4 separate regions of the Homo sapiens genome follow, and all the other regions are linked to region 3. The links are contacts of gene promoters, found by promoter capture Hi-C in blood cells and fetal thymus (Javierre and others, 2016). All regions are on one chromosome and are shown on one strand. The core of a region is centred on a gene start or on the middle of the fragment in contact, and the rest is flanking DNA. Distances in the headings are between cores, read along the strand shown. Region 1 overlaps BRWD1 (bromodomain and WD repeat domain containing 1). Region 2 holds the start of BRWD1-AS1 (BRWD1 antisense RNA 1). Region 3 holds the start of GET1 (guided entry of tail-anchored proteins factor 1). Region 4 overlaps BRWD1 (bromodomain and WD repeat domain containing 1).

The links. Contacts are between HindIII fragments. The CHiCAGO score rates a contact against its expected background, and 5 or more counts as called.
Region 1: a fragment that was not itself captured here is called in contact with the fragment with the promoter of GET1 in region 3 in 3 of 17 cell types (total CD8 T cells, naive CD4 T cells and non-activated CD4 T cells); the score reaches 9.0 in total CD8 T cells.
Region 2: a contact is called between the fragment with the promoter of BRWD1-AS1 here and the fragment with the promoter of GET1 in region 3, in 17 of 17 cell types (monocytes, total CD8 T cells, M0 macrophages and 14 more). The highest score is 21.8, in monocytes.
Region 4: a contact is called between a fragment that was not itself captured here and the fragment with the promoter of GET1 in region 3, in 2 of 17 cell types (total CD8 T cells and naive CD8 T cells). The highest score is 6.9, in total CD8 T cells.

What each region holds. Positions count from the first base shown.
Region 1 is chr21:39,279,144-39,283,849 of GRCh38, reverse strand. BRWD1 (bromodomain and WD repeat domain containing 1) reads left to right here. Exons shown (of 41, transcript NM_033656.4): 9 at 3,602-3,702. Among named protein-coding and RNA genes, the nearest start is that of BRWD1, 32 kb to the left of the region's middle. The HindIII fragment of the contact is 2,323 bases long and covers 201-2,523 here.
Region 2 is chr21:39,314,332-39,318,942 of GRCh38, reverse strand. BRWD1-AS1 (BRWD1 antisense RNA 1) reads right to left here and starts at 3,236. Exons shown (of 3, transcript NR_046655.1): 1 at 3,128-3,236; 2 at 1,734-1,898. It overlaps BRWD1-AS2 (BRWD1 antisense RNA 2), which reads right to left. Exons shown (of 1, transcript NR_111942.1): 1 at 4,028-4,611. It also overlaps a transcript of BRWD1 not described here. RefSeq lists enhancers at 3,128-3,822, 3,823-4,518. The HindIII fragment of the contact is 2,798 bases long and covers 838-3,635 here.
Region 3 is chr21:39,377,728-39,382,629 of GRCh38, reverse strand. GET1 (guided entry of tail-anchored proteins factor 1) reads right to left here and starts at 2,304. Exons shown (of 5, transcript NM_004627.6): 1 at 2,144-2,304. The coding sequence starts at 2,245. GET1-SH3BGR (GET1-SH3BGR readthrough) reads right to left here and starts at 2,304. Exons shown (of 14, transcript NR_146618.2): 1 at 2,144-2,304. The HindIII fragment of the contact is 3,691 bases long and covers 2,017-4,902 here.
Region 4 is chr21:39,296,358-39,300,940 of GRCh38, reverse strand. It overlaps BRWD1 (bromodomain and WD repeat domain containing 1), which reads left to right. Exons shown (of 41, transcript NM_033656.4): 5 at 2,359-2,509; 6 at 4,578-4,583. Among named protein-coding and RNA genes, the nearest start is that of BRWD1, 15 kb to the left of the region's middle. The HindIII fragment of the contact is 1,464 bases long and covers 1,278-2,741 here.

The DNA.
Region 1 (4,706 bases), core at 113-2,612, 98 kb after region 3:
TTTAATATCCAGAAATACATATTATAGTCATTGGCGACTGGCCTTGAGGGGGCATAACAAAACATGGTTGTATGTCAGTGATACTGCAATTGATGAAATGTTGCTATTTAGAAACAGTAAAAGGAAGCCCCCAGAAGTTAAAAATACCTGTTGGACACTAAAAAAACAAAAACAAATCGCAACTCTTAAAACTTCAAGCTTAGAGGCTTCATTAGTGAATTCTGTTAAAACTTGTTAGAACTGCTGAGAGCTTAATACGATGGTTAAATATATATAGGACCCATGTCTTAAAACCAGAACTTTATTGTACACCAGCAATAAAGAAGTAATAAATACAATGGAAGAAGAGTATAATTTGTAATAGCAACAAAACCCCTCAAACACATAGGAATGAATTTAACAGGAAATGTGAAATATGTTTATGAAGAAAGGTCTTAAAAATACTGACCGGAGTCTTGGGTTGGGGAAGGAAATAGTCTAAGTAAGTGAAAATACCTCTACCATGTTCCTGAATCAGAAGATTCAGTATTGTAAATATGTCAGATCTTTCCTGATTATGCTATAAAATCAGCGTATTTACATTTGAAATTCCAATGATTTTGTTTTTATGGAACTGTGCCAGCCAATCAAGCTCATTTAAAAGAGAATTATATAAGCACGGACAGCGAAAGAAGAGCAAAGAATTGTTTAGCCATGCTGGAGATATAAAAATGTTTTAGAGCTGTTATAAAGAAAACAGTATATATCAGTCCATGAATAGATGAAGATATAAGTGGGACAGAAATAGCTACAAATTGCTTATCTGTCTGGAAATTTGATTTAGAACAGGTGACTTAAACATATTCTTTCATGGACAGTTAGGTTTAGAATTCCTTTTTTTTTTTTTTTTTGTGACGGAGTTCCGCTCTTGTTGCCCAGGCTGGAGTACAGTGGTGCGATCTCAGCTCACTGAAATCTCTGCCTTCCAGGTTCAAGCGATTCTCCTGCCTCAGCCTCCCGAGTAGTTGGGATTACAGGCGCCCACCACCATGCATGGCTAATTTTTTGTATTTTTAGTAGAGACAGGGTTTCACCATGTTGATCAGGCTGGTCTTGAACTCCTGACCTCAGGTGATCCACCTGCCTTGGCCTTCCAAAGTGCTGGGATTACAGGCATGAGCAACTGTGCTTGGCCTCTAGAATTCTCAAAGTACTCTGCAAGGTTGCGAGTTTTACTCTGATGTTTTAATTAAAAAAAAATTTTTTTGTCCAATTAGCAATTCAGTGTGGAAGGTGTTTAAATTTTTTTTAAAGTGAAAGCAAGTTTATTAAGAAAGCAAAGGAATAAAAGAATCTTCAATTTTAATTAACAAAAATATCCAACTACTAATATAACTTTAATTATACTACTTTTTCTCATTACTTTTAATGAGATAGCCTGCAAAGCTCAATGTTAGGCCACATTCTGGAACATATCTACTTAGATATAAACAATCACTTTCAACATTAAAAAAAATCCATAATTTCTTCCTTACTTTGCTTTCTGTTAATGGCACTATTAGTCTTTCTTTTCTAAGCTCCTTCTTTGTCTTGAATGTTTCTTGAGTCAGCAAGTTTGTTTGCTTTTTGAGACAGAGTCTCACTCTGTTGCCCAGGCTGAAATGCAGTGGTGTGATCTTGGCTCTTTGCAACCTCAGCCTCCTGGGTAGCTGGGACTACAAGCATGCGCCACCATGCCTGGCTAATTTTTTATTTTATTTTATATATATGTTTATATACGTATGTGTATATGTCCATATATACGTATACGTGTATATATACATATGTACATACATATACTTATACATAGACGTATATGTTGACATATGTGTATATATACATATTTATATACATGTATTTATATGTATACATATATGTCTACATATATACACATGTATATGTATGTATACGTATATATATACATGTATACATACATACATATATATATATATTTTTTTTGGTAGGTGAAGGAGTCTTGCTGTGTTGTCCCGGCTGGAGTGCAGTGGCGCCATCTCAGCCTGCTGCAACCTTTGCCTCCCGGATTCAAGCGATTCTCCTGCCTCAGCCTCCTGAGTAGCTGGGATTATGGGCATCCGCCACCACTCCTGCCTACTTTTTATGTTACAGGCATCCAACATCATGCCCGGCTAATTTTTGTATTTTTAGTAGAGGTGGTGTTTCACCATGTTGGCCAGGCTGGCCTCAAACTTCTGACCTCAAGTGATCTGCCTGCCTTGGCCTCCCATAGTACTGGGATCACAGCCGTGTGTCATCACGCCTGGACAATTTTGTATTTTTTTGTAGAGACAGGGTTTCGCCATGTCACCTAGGCTGGTCTTGAACTCTTGGACTCAAGCAATTCTCACTCCTCGGCCCCACAAAGCGCTGGGATTACAGGCATGAGCCACAGCACTCGGGCGAGTCAGCAAGTTTTGATGCTCCTCTCTTTTGGTCTTTCCTCCCCATTCTAGGGGGAGAAGGGTGGAGCTGTATTCCAGTTAAGCTTCTTGCTTCTTAGATTAACTGGGTTCCCTCTTGGCTTTTTATTACATCTTGCCTCTTCTTTTTCAATCAATACTGTATATTGCTGTAAGACAAATCGTTTGGCTGCTTCTGGTGTTTTTACTTGAAAAGTACAGTTACCCTTTAAGCTGCTTTGATTACATCCAGATTCTCTATTCATTTACCCCATTGCCGCATGACTTTGAGAAATGAACACTTTGTTCATATAGATCTTTGTTTCTATCATATACCATATTCCCCCTCGCTTTTGAACTTGTGCTGATATTATTCCTTTGCTTAGTGTGTGTTTGTTTTCCTTGCATTTTCCTACTATTTAATCCTTCCTAGATGTCTCTAGCTAGTTCATCTTCCTTTCTGTAGCTTGCTTGTTTAGCACTTTTGGTATTTTATTAAGTACAGATGTTAGCCTTATTCTGAAGTTGCGCTGCAGTATAGTTCCTGTGTTTCCTTATTTTATGGCTTTGTTTTCAAAATATTTAAATCATTGACCCATTTCGAATGTATCCTGATGTAGTCTGAAGAATGGACTTAGTTTTTTTCCAGATTACTGCACAATTGTAATACCATTTATGCAGTGATCCATTGTTCGCCCAACAGATTTGAGATAATACCTTAATTGTACTTAAGTCTTAGATTAGGATTCATGTTTTCTCCCATTTTTCCTTCCAGTTTTTCAGTCAGCTTTCCCAGGTTGAATAGGGTCTAGTTTTGGATTGTATTTTTTCCATTGGTCATTCTATCAGTGTACCCTGTTTTGTCTGATCATTTTAATTATTAACACTCTGTGATATGCTTTAATATCTAGTAGGACTAGATCTCCACCTTGTTAAAGTTTTTCTGGCCAGTCTTGTTCATTCTGAAAATAGGCTTATTGAGATCATATTACATATAAATGAATGTGGAGAGGTTATGATTTTTTCACTACGGTAGTATTACCTATATTTTGGATTTCATGTGTTTATTTCCTGAAACTGTCAATTGAAGTTAAGTTTGCAAGACTATTAAACTGTAACTTAAGTAGAAGTTCTGGAAACTGAATTGTATATGTTTTACTTTTTAGTTTAGCCCGATGGCCAAAGGCTCTCAAAGATACATGGTTTCCACTGGTGCTGATGGGACAGTTTGCTTTTGGCAATGGGATTTAGAATCCTTAAAATTTAGGTAAGTGGCTTTAATTATGTAACAGGTTTTGTTTTTTAATGTAGTTACAGTTTAATCTAATGAAATGAAGTTTTATTGTTATGAGAAATTGTGTATTGTTGCTTTTTTTTAACCTTTGAACTTAATTTTTATTATATACAGCATATGTGCCATATTGACTATTTCCTATTTATAATTATGTAGATAGCAGGATTTGTAAAAGAAGCATAGCTTTTCTATCTTAGCACATTTTTGCAAAGACAAAGTAAGGCATTTAAAATAATAGGTATATAATTGGAAATTCAGGCAGGAACATTTGAGAGTCATAAGACCTGTATTGTATACCTGTGCTGTCTAATACAGTAGTCACTAGCCATATATGATCGTTGAGCACTTTAAATGTGGCTAGTGCAATTGAGGAACTGAATTGATAATTTAAATTTAAAACTTACAATTGATTAATGTATTAAAACATTTTTTTTCCTTTTGTTTTCGTTTTCTTTTTTTTTTTCTTTTTTTTTTTTTTTTTTGAGATGGAGTCTCACTCTGTTGCCCAGGCTGGAGTGTGATGGCGTGATCTCGGCTCACTGCAGCCTCTGCCTCCTGGGTTCAAGTGATTCTCCTGCCTCAGCCTCCTGAGTAGCTGGGATTACAGGTGCCCGCCACCACGTCCAGCTAATTTTTGTATTTTTAGTAGAGATGGAGTTTCACCAGGTTGGCCAGGCTAGTCTCAAACTCCTGATCTCAGGTGATCCACCCGCCTTGGCCTCCCAAAGTACTGGGATCACAGGCGTGAGCCACCACGCCTGGCCTGTTAGAAAATTAAGCATATCTTGAATAACGAGTATGTGAAATTTTCAATGAGTTTTGGGAAATCCAAATATAGATAAAATATTTTTGTTAAAAATTGAGTTGTCAAATTGAGATGTATTTTGAGTCTCAAATACACACTGGAAAATTTCAAAGACTTAATATGAAAGTATCTTATAATTTTATTGATTTGGATTACATGTTGATATTTTGGG
Region 2 (4,611 bases), core at 1,987-4,486, 65 kb after region 3:
TAAATAAAATCTATCGAAGTGTTAACTCTCCTCTTCCTAGGGAATTTATCCAACAGAAGTCCAGGAAGATCAAGGCGGGAGGATCACTTGAGGCCAGGAGTTTGAGACCAGCCTGGGCAACAGAGCAAGACCCGCATCTCTAAAAAACAGTAAAAAATTAGCCAGGCATGGTGGTGCACACCTGTAGTCTCAAGTACTCAGCGGTAGGACTGCGAGGCTGCAGTGAGCTCTGACTGTACCACTGCACTCCTGCCTGTGTGACAGAATGACATACTGTCTCTAAAGCGGAAAAAAACAAAACAAAAAACAGCCCAGGAGCCAGGGAAGACTTTTAACACATATTTTGTTGAATGAATGAATGAAGTGATCCAGGTTTTTGTGTGCATTTAATTTCACCTCTAGGTGCTGATCCAGTTTGTGGTATAGTGTTCTGGAGGTCCAACGTCATCTACTTCCTGCCCTTCAGAGGTATGCTGATGTTGTGTGTACATCAACATCAGCACAGCCTCCTGAATGAACCTAAATTCAGTTAACACAAATTTGCATTAAAACTAATATTAGGCTTTGGATTAGGTATCTGAGTTGTTTTGCATGTTCTCCATTGCTCACAGATTTCCTTATCTCATTTTTCAGAGTCTTTTGAAATGGACTCTAATCTACTAATTCATTCCATTTTGACCACTCTCTTATGTGAATTGTTGGAACCAGACTTCTTTGGTCACCATTTTCTAGATATGCATTCATATTTAACGTTGTTGGGCTTCCTAAGTGGTGATTTGGAAGGCCTTACTGAATTTTATTTTCCTCTCATTCACAGACAGATTAAAAAAAAAAGCTTTCCATTTTTAGGCAAATTCTTAAACTTTATTAGCCTTAGTTCCTCATTCTTTTTTGAGACAGGGTCTCGCTCTGTTGCCCAGGCTGGAGCACAGTGGTACCACCATAGCTTGTGACAGCCTTAAACTCCTGGGCTCAAGTGATCTCCTGCCTCAGTCTCCCCAAATAGCTCAAACTACAGTCACCCAACACCATGCATGGACTAAGTTTTTAATTTTTTGTAGAGAGAGGGTCTCACTATGTTTAAGACCAGCCTTGAACTCCTGGGCTCATGCGGTCCTCCTGCCTTGGTCTTCCAAAGTGCTGATAGCACAGACGAGAGCCACTACGCCCAGACTAGTTTCCTCATTCTTAAAATGGGAATAACAGAATCTAAGAGTTGCCTGCGGTAAATGAGATTACACACGTACTTATCACGTGGGCTTCCAAATGTCAGCTCTCTGATGCGCTAGCTGTGCAATCCTGTGTAAGTCTCCTAATTTTCAGGTCCCATTTCCTCTTTTGTGAAACGTGGCCAAGGGAGAATGGACTTTGCAGTGTTTGTGTTTCAGTCTAAGATAATACTGTCTACTTGGGATTGCAGTCCAGCCACCACTTACCAGCTATATGCCCTTGGGCCATACTTCCTCTGCGCCTCAGCTTGAGCCTATCAATGACATCTAAGAGCTGTTTATCCAGTCAGGAGTTGCTTGCCACGGCATAAGATGTTGGTTCCCTTGAAAATGCAACCCTATAGCTTAATGTCACCCACTGTTAAGATTTTCCAACACTTGCTTACCATGTAGCTTTCTTGTGGTGAAACTCTAAAGTTATTTCCATTTACCCAAAAGCAAACCTCAGTGTGTACATATGGAATGGCTGGGATTGAATTGTGTGAGGAATACACAGATTCTTGCCTTGTTTGGAGACCACTTCTGGTGGGTACCCACTAAGGAGTTGCTCCTGGACAGTGTATTTCTTTTTCCTCCTCCTGGCAGGCAAATATGAGTCACATCTGAGTCTCTTGACATATGGGAGTCGAATCGGGAAGATATTCTCTCTCTTGTTAGAAATCTTTGTTCCTATTCAAAATTTAGAAAGAATATTTGTCATGAATGTGATAGTAAGTTGTAAAAGGACTCCCAAGGCTCTTGTAAAGGAAAACTCATGTCATCGTGTCTTTTTTTTGAGACAGGGTCTTGCTCTGCTGCCTAGGCTGGAGAGCAGTGCTGTGATCATGGGTCACTGCAGCGTCAATCCCCCCCGGCTCTAGCCATTCTCATGCCTCAGCCTCTTAAGTAGCTGGGGCTACAGGTACACACCTACCACCCCTGGCTATTTTTTATTTCTTGTAGAGATGGGGTCTTACTATGTTACTCAGGCTGGTCTCGAACTCCTGGGCTCAAGCAGTCCTCTGGCCTTGGCCTCCCAAAGCGCTGGGATTACAGGTGTGAGCCACTGTGTCTGGGCTCGTGTCATCATTTCTGATCTCTTGTAATGGTTATCATGGTGCCAGTATCAGAACGATAATTTTGGACAATGACCAGAGCTTGGGATATAAATTCTTGTAATATCTTTAGGGGGTTTTTAATCTTACGCCCTTGTTACAAAATGAAATGCACAACTCCTTGGTCAATCATTGAAAGTTTAAATTCTCCCCTCTTGATGTCTTTGTCATTTGGTAACACTGGTAATCTTGCAGCATCAGATCACTGTCCCACAGTCATCTATGCACTGTAACTTCAAATAATCAAGTTGTTGCAAGCAGTTACTCATCTTAACAATCTAGCTACCAGCCTGTATGCCCTACCTTATTTGTTGGCACAACCTTGGAAAGCCCCAAACGAGATTTTTGTGGTTTTTATTTCACCCCAACTTCATCTTGCAGATTTACTGTCCTACATACTTCTGATCTTGTCTCTTCTCTATCCTTATGACCAACGCCCTCATGCATCATTTCTTTTCTATTTCAGGGGTATGTTAAGTGCCTCTTGGTCTTAACTTTCTCAAATCCATCCTAAAATAGAAAATGATTCCTTCCTGGCTTAGAATCTTTCAATTGCTCCCAATTTCAACTTCTGACATCATGGTCCCATCCTCTCCAAAGTCACCCCAAGTAGTCATACTAAACTTCTGGTTCCTTAAACTAGAAATCATATTCATGTCTTGGCCCTCTGTTGTTTGTATGTGCGAAATCCCTTTCCACACATTGTAGCCTGGATAACCCAAACTTCCCTAACATTTCCCCCACGCACAGGCAAGCTGATCTTCTGATATATCTCTGCCCTAAATCGTGTCATTATTTGCTTACATCTGTTTCCCCTAAGAGACGCTGAAGTCTTTGATGGCAAAGCTGTGGCTCATTCCTTTTTTTTTTTTAATCTCCATCACTTGTTAGTGCTTGCTGAATTAACAGATGTAAGGAGTTAACTTACTGTTGCACTAGCTCAAACATATTTAGATTGTTACCTCACAAATAGCTTTTTTTTTTTGGAGACGGAGTCTCGCCTTGTCGCCCAGGCTGGAGTGCAGTGGCGCGATCTCGGTTCACTGCAGCCTCCGCCTCCGGGGTTCAAGCGATTCTCCTGCCTCAGCCTCTCAAGTAGCTGGGACTAGAGGCGCGCACTGCCACACCTGGCTAATTTTTTTATTTTTAGTAGAGACGGGGGTTTCACTATGTTGGCCAGGATGGTCTTGATTTCCTGACCTCGTGATCCGCCTGCCTCGGCCTCCCAAAGTGCTTGGGACTACAGGCGTGAGCCACCATACCCGACAGCCTCACAGATATCTATGTCCATTTATAAATATATATAAAAGCTTTTGGCCAGGCGCAGTGGCTCATGCATGTAATCCCCAGCACTTCGGGAGGCCAAGGCGGGTGGATCACCTGAGGCCAGGAGTTCGAGACCAGCCTGGCCAACATGGTGAAACCCGTCCCTACTAAAAATATAAAAATATAAAAATTAGCCGGACGTGGTGGCGCTTGCCTGCAATTCCAGCTACTCGGGAGGCTGAGGCACAAGAATCGCTGGAACCCGGGAGGCAGAGGTTGCAGTGAGGTGAGATCGCGCCACTGCACTCCAGCCTGAGAGCAAGACCCTGTCTCAAAATAAATAAAAGCTTTTGCTATTTGGTGTAAATAAAAGCCAACTTGTACACGGTGCTTACTGTATACCAGGAACACAAATTCATTAAATCCTCACAACTTTGAGACAGGCACAAATATTATCTGTTTACTAGTGAGGAATTACCTACGGTTTACTAGTAAGGAACACTGAGACCCACAGGTTGTGACTTGCTCAAGGTCAAGCTGGTGGAGCCAAGACAAGGTGCAGGCAGTGAGTCCTGCCCTAGAGTCTGACCCGAACCACATTTAACGTCTATGTGGTGTGTAGGTTATTGCCATGAGTAAGAATCAGAATTGTTAACGCGCATTCCAGGAAGGCAGGGACACCACTGAGTGTTACTGCTGTACTTTAGGGGCCAGAGCAGGGCAGGCTGGATGCGCGGAGGAAACTCATAGTTAGGTCAGAAGCCTGGCAAGACAAGGGAATTTTCTGGTCGTCGTCCACCTCTCCAACCTCACATCCTACTAGTCTTCCAAGAGGATTCTAACTGCACATGACTCCCTAGTTTCCGGCTTCTCTTCCTAAGGAGGGTCTGCGGCCCGTCTGCACCACCCTCTCCCCACAGTCCCGTTTTCCTGTCCATGCTTGGATGGATCCAGCCGAGCCGTCAGCCGCAGCTGCGCGCTGCTCCCCCGACTCGCACCCCCTCGGCGAAGCGCTGCATTTT
Region 3 (4,902 bases), core at 1,055-3,554:
CATACAATGGGATACTATTCAGCCTTAAAAGGGGAGGAAATCCTGACTCATGATACACCATGGATGAACCTTAAGGATATTATGCTGAGTGAAAAGAAGCCAGTCACAAAAGGAAAAATACTGTCTGATTCCACTTATATGAGGTCCCAAGAGTAGTCAAATTCACAGAGGCAGAAAGTACAATGGTGATTGCCAGGGAGAGGTAGGAATGGAAAGTTGTTGTTTAATGAGTGCGAGAGTTTCGGTTAGAGGAGATAAAAAAAGTTCTGGGATGGGGCCAGGCGTGGTGGCACACGCCTGTAATCCTAGCACTTTGGGAGGCCAAGGAGCACAGATCACTTGAGGTCAGGAGTTTGAGACCAACCTGGGCAACATAGTGAGACCCCGTCTCTATTAAAAATACAAAAATTAGCCGGGCATGGTGGCAGGTACTGGTAATCACAGCTACCTGGGAGGCTGAGGCAGGAGAATCGCTTGAACCTGGAAGGTGGAGGCTGCAGTGAGCCAAGATCAGGCCACTGCACTCCTACATAGGCAACAGAGTGAGACTCTGTCTCAAAAAAAAAAAAAAAGAAAATGTTCTGGGAGCGGGGCCACGTGCAGTGGTTCACACCTGTAATCCCAGCACTTTGGGAGGCCAGGATGGGTGGATGGCTTGAGGTCAGGAGTTTGAGACCAGCCTGGCCAACATGGCAAAGCTCTGTCTCTACTAAAAATACAAAAAAATACCTGGGCGTGGTGGTGCATGCCTGTGGTCCCAGCTACTTGGGAGGCTGAGGTGGGAGGATCACTTGAACCTGGGAGGCAGAGGTTGCAATGAGTCGAGATTACACCACTGCACAGAGCCAGACCCTGTCTTAAAATAATAATAATAAAGTTCTGGGATAATGGTTGCACAAAAATGTGAATGTACTTAATGCCACTGAACTGTACACCTAAAAATGATAAAGATGATAAACTTCATATTATGTGTATTTTACAATTAAAAACAAGAAGATGAGCATGGGCCAGCTCATCAGGAGTCTTTTATGCAATGCCTGAGACATCATCTTAAAGACTGGATAGCATCAGGAAAGATTCTGAAGGAGACTCAGGGGTTAAAAGAGAATTCCCTATATCTCAGGACAATGCAGACAGTAGGACAATTGAGAGAGTAAGAATAGAGTTTTGCACAAAACAGGCACTCAATGAATACTGGTGGAATAAAATATCCTCCACTACTACCAATTTATCTTAGGAGAGAAAAGCAAGAACTGTTTTCCAAGACAACGCTGAAACGAATGCGCCCAATCTTTGAGGACTCCGCCTTTGCCCAACAGCTCCTCATTTCTGCTGTGGGCATACGGAGGGCGCTCATTCTCGGGGACAGTTCCCAAGGTACCCCCGCCTTCCATGGCCACACCCCACCACGCCCTGTCCAATTTGCCACCAAATCCCTATCCCTGCTCCAAAAGGCAATCAAATCTCCACCTCCAGTCACTAGGTGGATGACTTAGTGCCACCACTAAATTCTCTTGAGCCAGACTCCTCCGGGAGGTAAAGGAGGGTGGGATGATAATACTCGCCTCTCCCAGCAGCCGTGAGACAGAGGTAATGTACTCACTACCTGGCAGAAAGAGAGTGTTCCCCAACCTGGTTGCTCCCTTGGATACTGAAGGCATCACGCTGTACTGAGATTCTCTCTACACCTGTCTCCCACCCTACCCACCCCAAGAATGTGGGCTCCTGGACGCGAGGATCCATCTCTCCGGGACCTGGAACAGCTGACTTCGCCCGCCAGGCCTCTGGGAAACCCTGGCCGAGGGCTGCTCGAATGCCTCTAGGAACCAGGATTAACGGAAACGAGGCTGACAGCGGGGCACTAGGAACTCCCAGTGTGAGGTTCGCCGCCGCCACCCACAGCCAGAAGAGTCCAGGGTTGCCCGGTGTTTCTCCCAACCCCCTAGAACCCAGAAAGTCTGATTTTGGGGTAAAGCGTCGTACCTTTTAGACGCTAACAACTATCTCAAAAAAGCTTACGGACCAACCAAGACGCTACTACGGCCTTCAGTCGCCCAGTTGAGACCCCTGTACCTACGCCAGACCCGCCGGGGGACTGGGGCGGCATCCCCACCGGCCCTTGGGAGGCCAGGCAGCCACTTACGAAGGATGAGAAGGACGGGAGGAGGATCCTAAGAACATTGCATCCAAACACGAAGCTGAGCACCAGCAACCACGCCCAGTGGTCGGCCGCGGCTGAGCTCATCCCGGACGCTCCTGGCTGTGCTGGGTCCGCTACGGCAGCTCCATGGGGACCACAACAACAGCGGCGACCGCGCCTGCGCGGTGAAGCCAAGCGCCCCAGAACAGGCGCGCCGACGCGCCTGCGAACTGCGTCGCCCTCGCGGGAGGCGGGGCCGTTTTTTCGTCCGGCTCCAGTTGGAGCGGTTAACACGTTCCGGGTTTCTCCTGGGCCTTCGGCGGTTCCGTAGCCTTCTAGCACCCATCCCTACTGAACCAGTTTTCTGACGTCCGTGTTTCTTTTTTTCCTTCTTTTTAAAATTAAAAACCTTCTCATAGTACCAAACTCTGGTTTCAAGTGCTAACGACTCCCTGCTTTTGTCATAATTAGTACTTTCTTTAAATTAACTTTTAATTCTAGATAAGTTTAAGAAAAACTCTTCCATAAATAGAAAACTACCGTTTTTATAGTAGCAGGTAACTGTCGTGTTCCAAGCAGTTACATGGAAAATGCCTTACGTTTTCGTTCCAGATCTAAACACTGTAGTAAGTCTAACCAATTTACACAACTGCATACCTGAAAAATAAGTTTAATAGAATGCACTGTTCACAATCATTAGTAATAGTTAATAAATTAACCTGAATCTAGGTGAAGATCAGGTTTTGCAGCGAAAGAATCCCAACTCAAATGTATGCAAAGTGAGCAGGGCGAGGTGGCTCACGCCTGTAATCCCAGCACTTTGAGAGGCCGAGGCGGGCAGGTCATGAGGTCAAGAGATTGAAACCAGCCTGGCCAACATGGTGAAACCCCGTCTCTACGATACAAAAATTAGCCGGGCGTGGTGGCGCGCGCCTGTAGTCCCAGCTACTCCGGAGGCTGAGGCAGGAGAATCGCTTGAACCCGGAAGACGGAGGTTGCAGTTAGCCAAGATCGCGCCACTGCACTCCAGCTCTGGCGACAGAGCGAGACTCCGTCTCAAAAAAAAAAAAAAGTATGCCTAGTGGATAAAGCAAGACATGTTCAACTGTCTCTTCTGCCATGCTGCCATGACTGGTTTCTGAGGACTAATTCCTAATCAAAATGATGCAAGATTGCGGGTACACTGGCTCACGCCTGTAATCCCAGCACTTTGGGAGATCCAAGCAAGGTGGATCACAGGCCCAGGAGTTTGAAACCAGTCTGGGTAACATAGTGAGATCCCCATCTCTACAATAAAATATAAAAATTAGCCGGGCACTGTGGCACGTGCCTGTGGCCTCAGCTACTAGGGAGGCTGAGATGAGAGGATCGCCTGAGCCTGGGAGGTCGAGGCTGCAGTGAGCTGTGATCACACCACTGGACTCCAGCCTGGGCGACAGAGCACAACTCTGGCTCATTATTATGAACCAGTTAAAATAATTATGCGGCTGGGCACAGTGGCTCAAGCCTGTAATCCCAGCACTCTGGGAAGCCGAGGCAGGTGGACCACCTAAGGTCAGGAGTTCGAGACCAGCCTGACCAACATGGCAAAACCCTGTCTCTATTAAAAATACAAAAATTAGCTGGGTGTGGTGGCGGGCACCTGTAGTCCCAGCTACTCAGGAGGCAGAAGAAGGAGAATCGCTTGAACCTGGGAGGCGGAGGTTGCAGTGAGTTGAGATCGCACCATTGCACTCCAGCCTGGGTGACAAGAGTGAAACTCTGTCAAGAAAGAAAGAAAGAGAGAAAGAGAAAGAGAAAAAGAAAGAAAGAAAGAAAGAAAGAGAGAGAGAGAGACAGAAAGAAAGAAAGAAAGAAAGAAAGAAAGAAAGAAAGAAAGAAAGAAAGAAAGAAAGAAAGAAAGAAAGGGAAAGGAAAGGAAAGAAAGAGAGAAAGAAAGAGAAAAAGAAAAAGAAAAGAAAAGAAAGAGGCTGTGGTTCTACAAATTTCTGTGTCAAGAAAACATGTGAAGCAAAACTATTCTGTAGTGGTAGAGTGAATTCCTTCCCTGAAAGGACTTATTGGTTAAGTGACTTCTGAACTGACCAAAACAAAGAGCAGGAGTCTGGCTCTCCTCCATAGCCTTCCCTTCCACCTGGATGGACCACGCAGCACGGCAGCCAGGCTCCTGGCTCCTCTCTCACTGGAGATTGAGATGGATTTAGAAGGAGAAACTGCCTCTTGAAAAGTGATGACAGGCCAAGCATGGTGGCTCATGCCTGTAATCCCAGTATTTTGGGAGGCCGAGGTGGGTAGATCACCTGAGGTCAGGAGTTCGAGACCAGCCTGATCAACATGGTGAAAACCCATCTCTCCTAAAAATACAAAAATTAGTCGGGCGTGGTGGCGCATGGCACACGCCTGTAATCCCAGCTACTCAAGAGGCTGAGGCAGTAGAATCACTTGAACCCAGGAGGCGGAGATTGCAGTGAGCCCAGATCACACTGTTGCACTCCAGCCTGAGCAACAGAGAGACTCAATCTCAAAAAACAAGAAAAAAAAAAGGAAAAGTGATGACAGCCCCGACCCCACTGGACCCCTTTCACCCGCCCCCAGTCTCTGCCTCTGGCTAAAGAGAAGTCCACTACCACACCCCACTGCCACCTATCTTCAGGAAAAGGATTACCTAATTCCTGGACAGTCGAGAACTCCTAACAAAAAAAAAACCCTGGAGCATGTCCTCAACTTTGCAGCAGCGGTGGGAGAGAAGCAGCAGCACCCGG
Region 4 (4,583 bases), core at 760-3,259, 81 kb after region 3:
TCCCAAAGTGGGTTTTCTTTGCATTTATTTTTCTTGGGTTCTCTGAGCTTTTTGAATAAGTGGTATGATATCAAATAGTTTAATGTGTAATTAAAGTCCCAAGTGGAAAGGATAGAGGGGAGAAGTAGTTTGAAGAAATAACAGCTAAGCATTTTTGAACATCTGGGCCATCTCTAGGTCTGCTTCTATTGACCATTTCCCCTCTTGACCATGGGTCATATATCTAGCTTTGTTGTGTATCTCATCATTTTTTTGAGGTATGCTGTAACTTTTTGTGTAAAGAGTAGAGGCTGCAGTAATGTATTTACCTCTGGTAAAGATGTGCTCTTTTCTCAAGCAGTTAGTGTGTGAGACAGGGTCAATCTAATTTGTAATTGATCATCTCTGAGCTTTGTTACATTCAGTAAATCACTGGCTTTCCATGCTTTGAGGGTGGCATCAATACTTTCCCTTCCAGCAGAGTTTGACATTTGGCCCTCATGAAATTTCTGAGATGTCTTATTTTTTACACTGGAGTTGCCACCTTTCCAAACTTTGTGAGATCTTTTTCTACTTTGTACCTGACTGCCAACTTTTTAGGTTGCTACAGAGTTCGCTCTGCCTTGCCGTCCTGCTCTAGGCTTTCCATGTCAGAAGAGATCATTCTCCACCCTGTTGTCCTATCTCTAGCCTTAGGAGGGCCACTACAGTGCATTTCTTCCAGGGCTGCCCTGGCTTTAGTGTTTGGGCCCTATGCAGTTGGTGAAGGCCTATGGGAAAAAATTGTGGTAGGTGTGCAGACTCACTGTAACTGAGGCGCCTTAGGATTCTAATCAGTCATGCCGGCCACAAGTAGCCATTAAGTTTGTTAGAGGTTTGAGTGGTTTTTTCTTATTCTTTTCTGAGGTCAGTTCTTCCTGCCTCTCTGCTAGGGGTGTAAGCAGCTATGAGTCCCTTTTCTTTAACTTTATTTTTTTTAGATGGAGTTTCACTCTTGTCGCCCAGGCTGTGGAGTGCTATAGCATGATCTTGGTTCACTGCAACCTCCGCCTCCCAGGTTCAAGTGATTTCATACCTCAGCCTCCTAAGTAGCTGGGATTACAGGCGCCTACCACCACACCCAGCTAATTTTTGTGTTTTTTTTTTTTTAGTAGAGATGGGATGTCACCATTTCCGCCAGGCTGGTCTCGAGCTCTTGACCTCTAGTGATCCACCTGCCTCGGCCTCCCAAAGTGTTGGGATTACAAGCGTGAGCCACCGTGCCCAGCCTGAGTCCCTTTTCTGTTCCCAGAAAAGCTTGTACTTTGTGGGATTAGTTAATGTAGATTTTTCTTTGTTTCTTCAGCTGTGATGGGTTTATACATTTTTTAAAGTTTATCCAGCCTATTCTCATTGTCGAGATGAGAGCAATATCTTTTATCTCTTACGTTGGAGTAAATAAATGATTATTTTTCATTTAAAATTATAACAGACATATATTTGTCTATAGTAATCCATAGGTATATCCACTTATGGCTCCTGGCACCTAATAGGCTGTCAGTACTTACTGAAAGAATTAATGTTTTTTACTGCCTAGTATGTTGTTGAGAACCAGTTATCCATGATTTAGATACTAAATGATGTCTTATAGGATCTTTGATATCTTAACATCTCTCTCAAAGATGTATGCTTCACTTACAGGCCAGTTAGCATATATATATATTTTTTTTTTTTTGAGACAGGCGAGTTAGCGTAATATGTATATATATTTTTTTCTTGTTGCCCAGGCTAGAGTGCAATGGCACGATCCCAGCTCACTGCAACCTCCACCTCCTGGGTTCAAGTGATTCTCCTGCCTCAGCCTCCCAAGTAGCTGGGACTACAGGTGTGCACCACCATGCCTGGCTAATTTTGTATTTTTAGTAAAGATGGGGTTTCACCATGTTGGTCAGGCTGGTCTCGAACTCCTGATCTCAAGTGATCCACCTGCCTTGGCCTTACAAAGTGCTGAGATTACAGGTGTGAGTCACCATCCCTGGCCCAGTTAGTGCAATTTTGAGTAAAGTCTTGATTTCAAGTCTTGAGATTAAGTTTTGTTAGCTCTGCAACCTTTTTTCTTTTTCAGAGGTGCTTTTCCAGGTCATTTGCATATAAATTTTAGAACAAAATTGTCAATTTCTACAAAAAAAAATGTTGCTGAAGTTTTGAGTGTTACAGGTTTGAATCTGTAGCTCAAATCTGTAGATCAGCTTATTGTTTATTTAAGTCGTCTTTAATTTCTCTCAGCATGTTTTACAGTTTTCAGTGTATGTTTTTCACATTTTGCCAGACTTATCCCTAAGTATTTAATAGTTTTTGATATTATTAAGCTGTTGTCATTAAAACTTGCTCTCCAACTAGGTCTTGTCCAATAAGCATGTGGCTCCTGATCATCTTTTGCAAATCTGCCAGCGCATCGGTCCTATGTTGGATAAAGAAATTCCACCCAGTATTTCAAGAGTCACTTCTTTACTTGGTGCAGGAAGGCAGTCTTTGCTACGTACAGCAAAAGGTACCTTAATTTGAAGAAGTGTTCTGCTTTGTATTAATAGCCTAATAATTATTATAATTGTGAAGTAATGTAAGCATTGTGGAAGAAAGGTGATAATGTAACTATAAATCATGCTGTGGACTATAAAATTCTCTGCATTTAGCATAGAACATTGAATTTTATTACATAAGTGTTTAATGGGTCCTTCTGCATTAAAAAGTTGATAAAGATATAGATGTTAAGCTAAAAAGCTTGAATTTATTCTGAGATGTTGTTTGAGGTTTTATCAATGTGAGTTCTTAATTTTCCATTTTGTAGCTCACTCATAACTTCATTGAATGTAATTGTATGTGTCTAATAAACTCTTTAAATGCTAGAGGTATTTCATTTGATATTTAGCTTCTGAAAGCCCTTTGTTATAAAGGGAAGTGATTTTCTAAATTTGGTAGCAGCTTGAAAACAAGCACCACAAATGTAAAACTGCATGGTTCTTTTTTTACTAATTTAATTTTTTTGCCAAGTTATGTGCTAGCAAAATGTTTGAAATTGCTATTCTTTTTCTGTTAGCTTGGTATATATGACTTAGACTAAGTATATGTATGTGATATAATATATGTGTACATGTGGCTAAACTGCTAATGGGCAAAGATTGTTGGTTCTTCTGATGCTGAGTATACATCAAGTTCATCCCATGATTATTTTTTATTACGAGCTATTGCTGATGTGATGCTACTCTTAGCTGCACCACCAGTATAAAGCTTAACTGAGAAAGAACACCCCTCCCTCTTAGTTCCGTGCCAGACTGGTTTGTTAGCTTTAGTTGTTTCTTAGTGCTCTAGCCATGTCACCCTGTGGCACTAATCAGGACACTGTTTATATTCTTCCTCTTCTGTGTCCCTATTCACTTTGTAATTATTCTATTTTAGCTGGTTATATGGTAGTTAATTGGTAGCCTGTTTTCCTTTGTTTTCTTTACTTGTGTCAAGCTCCATGTCGTTGTTTTGTGATGAGCAGTGATTTAGAACTGGCCAGACCTTAGAAGAGTCTTCAGCAAGCTGCCCTAGGGTAGGGGCGTATTCTCTGTTTGTTTTGTACTGGTACCCCAGGAGGATGCCTTGTAACTGCTCTTTGGTCATGATAGTGGTAATGAATCCATTCATGTAAAATGCAATATGTCTGTTAGTTTGGGGCACCCGAGGCTCAGTAGAGGTTTAGTATGATGCCTTCCCTTTCTTCTTTGAGTTATGAAGAAACTAATTTCTGGCACAGTGTGACTGCTTCAAACCTATGTTCTGCTGCTATCTCCTATAGAGGAGGGCAGACTTTTTTTTCTTAGTGCATTTGCTGGTAGGTCAAGGAGGGATGGACTTTGAATTAGTGTTCAGAGTCACAGATCCTACGTATGTGCTCTTCAGTAGAGGATTTTCTGTGATCCTACAATGAAGGGAAAGCTATATAATTTATTGGTACTTCCTAAAGATAGAGACTAAAGTCATGGTAGTATTGGCCAAATTAATTTTAAAACTGAACAAGTCATGAATTTTCATATAAATCAAAGAACTTTTTCCTTATAAAAGCTTCCATTTTTGAAAAGTTGGATCAGTTGTAAGACCTTTCATCTTTAGTATTGTATGATATAATTCTACATTGAAAAATAAACACTTGGCATTAAATGGGACTTGGAGTCAAAAGATCTGGTTTTATGGTCCATCTTTTACCAATCATTTGCTGTGGATCTCTTTAAAGGTCCTGGAACCTTTGAGCCTCAGTTACCTCACTTGTAAATTGGCAAAAATACCTACCTCACAGGGTTGTTGTGAGGATTCAATGAGCTAATGTATGTTGAAAGCACTTTGTGAATTGTAAAGTGCTACACAAATGTTAGTTGTTGTTGCTGCTGTATCTGAGATGTCTTAATTTTCTTTTTCTTCAGAAATAGTCTAATAAACCTCCAGGGCTTTTCTGTTAAAGTATACTAGTTGGTAAAATGTTGAATAAACAGTTTATTACAATATACGTAAGTATTCTATAAAATCTTTCTTGGGGTTAACTTTCAAGATTTTATGTGTATCTAAAATTCATTTTAAAGACTGCA